2 separate regions of the Homo sapiens genome follow, and region 1 is linked to region 2. The links are contacts of gene promoters, found by promoter capture Hi-C in blood cells and fetal thymus (Javierre and others, 2016). All regions are on one chromosome and are shown on one strand. Each heading gives the region's core, a stretch centred on a gene start or on the middle of the fragment in contact. The rest is flanking DNA. Distances are from core to core; before and after follow the strand shown. Region 1 holds the start of LCN6 (lipocalin 6). Region 2 holds the start of PMPCA (peptidase, mitochondrial processing subunit alpha).

Region 1 (3,015 bases), core at 319-2,818, 340 kb after region 2:
GCCTGCCTGAGGCCACAAGGCCAGTCTGGCCAACAGCGTCCATGACCATATTGTTTGGGGATTTATGTTATGAAAGAACCAGTGGTTCTTAGGTCCGAATGCATTATCCTCCTTTAAACAGAATTCCCGAAAAAGGCCTGCTGAGAGGACAGGCTTCCCCAGCTCTGACCACAGCCTGCAGCCCAGATGACCCAGGACAGGGATGCATGAAGGAGCATAGTCAGAGCAGTGCCCGCCGCGGTATTGAAGGTGGGAGTGCCACCTGGAGGCCCCAGGGACACAGATGTGAGTAGCTGGGCAGAGGGCTGGTGGCTCTGCACAGAGCCCAGTGGGAAAAGTGACGGGGGTGCAGAGGGGCCGTGGGAAGCCCCCAGGCCGCGGTGCCCGGGAGCAGATGTGCAAAGTACATGATGTGGCTGAGCCACAGTCCTGCCTGCGGGAAGGCCTGGCAGGACCCGCCCACTCACCCGTGCTGAGAGGACAGCGTCCGCAGGTTGTTTTCTGGAGTGAGGGTCACCACCACCCCCACGACGTTCTTCATGTCCTTCTCCATGGCAAAGCCCTTTTCCCGGGAGGCCACCGCAAGCACGTACCAGGGCCCAAGAAGCTGCATTGAGGCGGCTCCCGTTAGGGCCGCCAGCCCTCCAGCCTCCAGCCTCCAGCCTCCAACCCTCCAGCCTCAGCCTCCAGCCTCCAAACCTCCAGCCTCAGCCTCCACCCTCCAACCATCCAGCCCTCCAGCCTCCAGCCTCCAACCCTCCAGCCTCCAGCCTTCCAGCCCTGCAGCCTCCAGCCTCCACCCTCCAACCATCCAGCCCTCCAGCCTCCAGTCTCCAACCCTCCCGCCCTCCAGCCTCCAACCTTCCAGCCTTGCAGCCTCTAGCCTTCAGTTCTCCAGCCCTCCAGCCTCCAGCTTCCAACCCCCCAGACCTCCAACCCTCCAGCCTCCAGCCTTCCAGCCCTACAGCCTCTAGGCTCCAGCCCTCCAGCCTTCCAACCTCCAGCCTGCAGCCCTGCAGCCTCTAGTCTCCAGCTCTCCAGCCCTCCAGCCTCCAGTTCTGCAGCCCTCCAGCCTCCAGCCCTCCAGCCTCCAGTTCTACAGCCCTCCAGCCTCCAGCCCAGCAGCCTCCAGCCTCCAGTTCTCCAGCCCTACAGCCTCCAGCCCTCCAGCCTCCAGTTCTCCAACCCTACACCCTCCAGCCCTGCAACCTCCAGTCTCCAGCCTCCAATTCTCCAGCCCTCCAGCCTCCAACCCTCCAGCATCCACCCCTCCTGCCCTGAGGCTCCTGCCTGTGGGACTCCCCAAGGGCTGGCCCAACTAATTCCCCACTGCTCATGCTGGTCTGGGCTAGCCCTGGGGGGCCCAGAAGCTGTGTGGCCTTAAAGGAGGGGCTGGCCCCCGAGGACCAGCTCTCCCCACCCCCAGGAGGACTGTACCTGCTCAGGGTCCAGTCTTCCCAACCACACGGCCTGGGCCCTGGGCACCGAGACCAAAGCCAGAAAAGCAGCCAGCAGCAGGCCGCCCATCCTCCCAGGTCTACACTGCGCCGCAGGCCCAGGATGTGCAGTCCCTCCAGGCCCTGGAGACCCGTTTATATGGCTCTGAATTTCTCCGTGTGGGTGGCACTAACTGCCAGGAACCCTCCTGGCCTCCTGCAAAATTACCCAGGGGAGCACTGAGCAGTGGCAGCCTCTGAGCCCAGATCAGACCAGCTGCACAGCCAGGAGAGGGTCTGGAGTGTGTGGATCAACCATACTATACTGATCCCCTGCTTTCTTCCACCAGAAGGTTCCAGAATGGGCATCCTAAAGCCAGCCGCACCACCTCCCCCGTTCCTGGGGACCCACGCTCTCCCTCGCCCAGCCTGGGAAGCAGGGAGACTGCTGTCCGCTGCCAGGCCCGGCAGGAGGCCAAGGTCAAGCCCAAGGAGAGGAACCAGGGCGAGAACAAGTGGTTCTCAGGAACTGCGGTTTTGGATATCTTTTGTTTCAATCATTAAATATAAAAAGTCCCTGAAAGCCTTTTGAAAAAGGCTCCCACCTCCTCCTGGCCCACCCACCATTCTGCTTTGTGGCCTGGCCTCTGTCCCCCACAGCCAGCACCCCCAGAACAGACTGTCCTGTTCCTTCCACCTCTGCAGCCCACCATCCGGCCCTGCTGCCTCCTGCCTCCCCTCCCTGGGACCCTGGCCTGCTTGTGCCTCCCAAGGCCCCTTGAGAGCTCTCTGCAGCCCCAGTCCGGGAGCAGAGGACAGAGGTGCTCGGCAGGGTCTATCTGAGCCCCTGAAGCCCACTGGGAGGCAGCCGGGAGGGTCCTCCCCCAGTGCCGTGGCCTGCACCCTCTGGGATTCACTCCCACACACCTTCGCTCATTCATCAACAAGGGTGCAAGGAGCACGTCCATGCAACAAGGCTCCAGTGCCCAGGGCCGCCTGCACTCACAGAGCTTATGCTGCAGCCCTGGCCACCTGCCCTGTACCCACGCAGCAGGGCCTGTGACCACCAGAGTGCAGGAGGAAGGCAGAAACCACACAGCTACTGGGGGCTGGGCCTGCGAAGACTGACCGGGCAGTGGGGCCACGGAGGTGCCAGCCACAGCCATGGCAAGCAGGAGTTGCCCAGGGGCTGAGCCACAGAACAAGGGAGCGGGACACTTAGGCCTGGAGCCTTCAGGAGGGAGCCGTGGCTGCTCGCGGTAATCCCAGCACTTCAGGAGGCTGAGGCGGGAGGATCACTTGAGTCCAGGAGTTTGAGACCAGCCTGGGCGACATAGCAAGACTTCGTCTCTACAAGCAAGTTTAAAAATTAGCTGGACATGGTGGCGTGCTCCTGTAGTCCCAGCTACTCAGGAAGCTGAGGTAGGAGGATTGCTTGAGCCCAGGAGGTTGAGGCTGCAGTGAGCTGTGATCGTGCCACTCCTCTCCAGCCTGGGTGATGGAGCAAGACCCCATCTCTAAAATAAAATAAAAATACAAAAAGGAGGAAGCCGAGCAGCTGGGCCAGGCCTCTGAGAAG
Region 2 (3,153 bases), core at 542-3,041:
AAATCCCACCCCCACCTGCTCTTTTGGGCTCCAGCTACACCACATAGCCAGTCACATTGACAGTCCCACCAGACACGTGCCTGGCACTGTGTTGGATGGAGACAAGAAGAAAAGGTTGCTGAACTACTCTACCTCCAAAATGTGTCCCGTGGGCTCCTGACGGGCTCTGCTTAGAACATTTCCCCTTTCCATAGCCAAAATCTGCAAAGAAACAATGTCACCCACCATGCTGGCAGGAAGTCTTTATGACCTCACATTTGGTTTTTTTCTTTTGCACATGGAGTCTCCACTGCAGTGGTTCTCACAGTCTAGAGAACTTTTTTTTTTTTTTTGAGACGGAGTCTTGCTCTGTCGCCCAAGCTGGAGTGCAGTGGTGCGATCTCGGCTCCCTGCAAGCTCCGCCTCCTGGGTTCACGCCATTCTCCTGCCTCATCCTCCCGAGTAGCTGGGACTACAGGCACCTGCCACCACGCCCGGCTAATTTTTTTGTATTTTTTGTAGAGACGGGTTTTCACCCTGTTAGCCAGGATGGTCTCAATCTCCTGACCTCATGATCCGCCTGCCTCGGCCTCCCAAAGTGCTGGGATTACAGGCGTAAGCCACTGCGCCCGGTCAGCCGAGAAAACTTTAAAAAAAACACAAGCTCCCAGACTTGTGACCCTGGAGATGGCCTGACTTGCAGACTGGCCCTGGTGTCCGTGGTCTGAAAGCGGCTCCTCAGCAGATTTTGAAGCCCAGCCGGGGCAAGCGCGTCCTCTTGTCTTGTGACAACCCCCGAATGTCCTCAGATCCTGGCATAACCACACAAACACTCCTGCACACCCCGGGCACCCAGCAGCACTTCTGCTTGGGTAGAACGAGGACGAACCAGATCTGGCCACTGCCCGGCTGTGGAGGCAGATGGAATGCTCCAGCTCGGTTTCCAATCACTGCCCACTAGGTGAAGGCACCCCGACTCCAGCCCCACGAGGAAAGCGGGCGGGCTCCTGTGCTCCCCGGGCACTAACCATCCTGTACTGGAACTGTCTGTCTTGGGGGAGGTCTCCCCGCAACCAGACTGTGAGCTCCTAGCAGGGGACTCCGCCTTTGAATTCCGAGTGCCTGGCACGCAGTGAGCGCTCTGCACATTGATGGGTCAATGGACGAGCTCGTGCTGCAGCGGAGGTGCCACACGTGGCGCGGGAACTGGAAGCGTCCCCGGGGCCGGCGCCCTCGTCTCTCACCTGTGTCTCCCACGGAAGCCAGCACCGGGCTGGGCACATAGCACATAAAGGCCGGCCGAATGCCGAAGAAGGGGGAGTCCAGGTCCCTGCCATGGGGGCGCTCACAATTTAGCTGGGGGAGACAAGACCGGCGCTCATAGAACGCTGGAGCTGGAAGCAACGACAACAGCGACTTTACTGCGTGCCGGGGCGGCCGCCGCCCACCTGGACCGCTGGACTCGGCCCCTGCCCCGCTCACCGTCGGGAATGGCGAGGCTCCGGGCTCGGGACAGCGGGGTGGCGCCCGGGCGGCGCTGGTAGCCCGACATCGCCGCCGGCCCGGCGGGGCACGACCTGCCTAGCCCGGCAGCGGCGGCTCCATGGCCCCGGCTCCGCCCGTGCCGCGGCCCGCGTCGCCCGCCCCCGTCGCCCGCCCCCGTCGCCCGCCGCTCGGCCGCCCCCGCGCCTCCGAGCCTCTCGCCGCTGCTTCCGCTCCGAGCACCGAAAGCGCGTGCCTGAACGCCTTGGGCCGTCGGCGAGGGGGAGGGGAAGCCGTGGGCGGAAGCGGAAGTGACGACTGAAGCGGGGCGGAGACGCAAGATGGCGGCTGTGGTGCTGGCGGCGACGCGGTTGCTGCGGGGCTCGGGTTCTTGGGGCTGTTCGCGGCTGAGGTGAGCCAAAGGCGAACCAGGCTTCGGCCTGGGGCGGGGGCGGCTCGAGTCTTTCTGGACGCTCCGTCTTCGGTTTCTACAGGTGACATGGCGCCCGTGGGACGGGCTCGCACTTCGGGACACTGGTGTCCCCGAGGCGACGGGGGCCCTGCCTTGCTTTGCGCCTCGAGCCCGGGGACGCAGTCCCATCTGTCTCTCCTCTCCCCGGCTGCTGGGTCCTCTCCCCCCCTCACTTCCCGGGTCGACGGGCCTTCTCCGAGGCCATGCCTCATATTTGCCCCCGCGCTTCACCTACCGCGTGCTCCTTCAGGAGGCTGAGCCGGTGGGGGCCCAGCTCTGTTAGACCCGCAGGGTTCTGACACCAGGGTCCAGGCTCTCGGTTGCTGCGGTCTGTCCGTTGATCTCTGACGTTTAAGAACCCTTTCCGTACCCACCGCTCCTCCCACCCAAGTGACCGGGCCTGCCTTTCCCCACGCTGGAACTTTGTTCCGACAGCACAGGCGTCGCCCCTCCCCACACAACGAGCGCCGTTTCAGGGGTGCGGAGGTGCTGCCTCCAGGAGATGGATACAGGCTGGAGCGTAAACAAAATATCGGCAGTCGCGTAAATGCTTTGGAGTAAACAAGCAGCCTTTCATGATAGAAAATAGCAGGAAAGACTAGACTGGTGAGGGATAGTCCTCCATCAGGGTGACATTTAAGGGAAGAGCTGAAGAATGAAAGAAGGGGTAGGCATGGGCAAAGGGCAAGCCCTGGAACGGTGAAGAAGCTTTGGGGTTGATGAGTCAAATGTGTTCCAGGAATTGACAAGAATCAGTGTGACCAGGACCTATGGGAGTGTGGGGGTTCAAGAGATGAGTTTGGAGAGGGAGACAGAGGCCAAGTCACACCCCGCCTTCGGACCAGGTTAATAAGGGATATGGCTTTTATCCAAGACTTCGGTGGTGCTGTTGGAGGGCAGAGCTGTTAAGTGCTTTATGTGTACAAACTGCACTTAGAGTGAGTTACTGTTAATAAGCCCTGTTTTTACAGAGATAGCAACTAAGACCCAAAGGACGGAACCAGCTTGCTCCAGGTCCCGTGGCTGAGCCTTTGTTGTCAGCCTCTGCTTTGTCTTCCAAAGTCTGTAGAAATAAGTCCTGTAGAAAGGCAGATGCTCACTTTTAACCCAGACAAAACATAACTAACCGCACCTAACAGGTCATCACAGGTTTGTTGTCTCAAGCCTGTTGTAACTGGGCCGCTTTCTCTGTTTTAGGTTTGGACCTCCTGCGTACAGAC

Evidence for each region. Contacts are between HindIII fragments. The CHiCAGO score rates a contact against its expected background, and 5 or more counts as called.
Region 1: a contact is called between the fragment with the promoter of LCN6 here and the fragment with the promoter of PMPCA in region 2, in 2 of 17 cell types (megakaryocytes and M0 macrophages). The highest score is 6.1, in megakaryocytes.

Annotation. Positions count from the first base shown.
Region 1 is chr9:136,746,957-136,749,971 of GRCh38, forward strand. It overlaps LCN6 (lipocalin 6), which reads right to left and starts at 1,569. Exons shown (of 7, transcript NM_198946.3): 1 at 1,438-1,569; 2 at 468-607. The coding sequence starts at 1,527. It overlaps LOC100128593 (a long non-coding RNA gene), which reads left to right. Exons shown (of 3, transcript NR_033913.1): 2 at 122-1,616; 3 at 1,790-2,955. MIR6722 (microRNA 6722) reads right to left here and starts at 14; the gene lies at 1-14. The HindIII fragment of the contact is 9,973 bases long and covers 1-3,015 here.
Region 2 is chr9:136,408,867-136,412,019 of GRCh38, forward strand. It overlaps PMPCA (peptidase, mitochondrial processing subunit alpha), which reads left to right and starts at 1,792. Exons shown (of 13, transcript NM_015160.3): 1 at 1,792-1,873; 2 at 3,131-3,153. The coding sequence starts at 1,803. ENTR1 (endosome associated trafficking regulator 1) reads right to left here and starts at 1,748. Exons shown (of 10, transcript NM_001039707.2): 1 at 1,462-1,748; 2 at 1,224-1,373; 3 at 133-201. The coding sequence starts at 1,531. RefSeq lists enhancers at 851-1,010, 1,861-1,950, 1,981-2,030 and silencers at 1,371-1,420, 1,561-1,650. The HindIII fragment of the contact is 5,612 bases long and covers 1-2,639 here.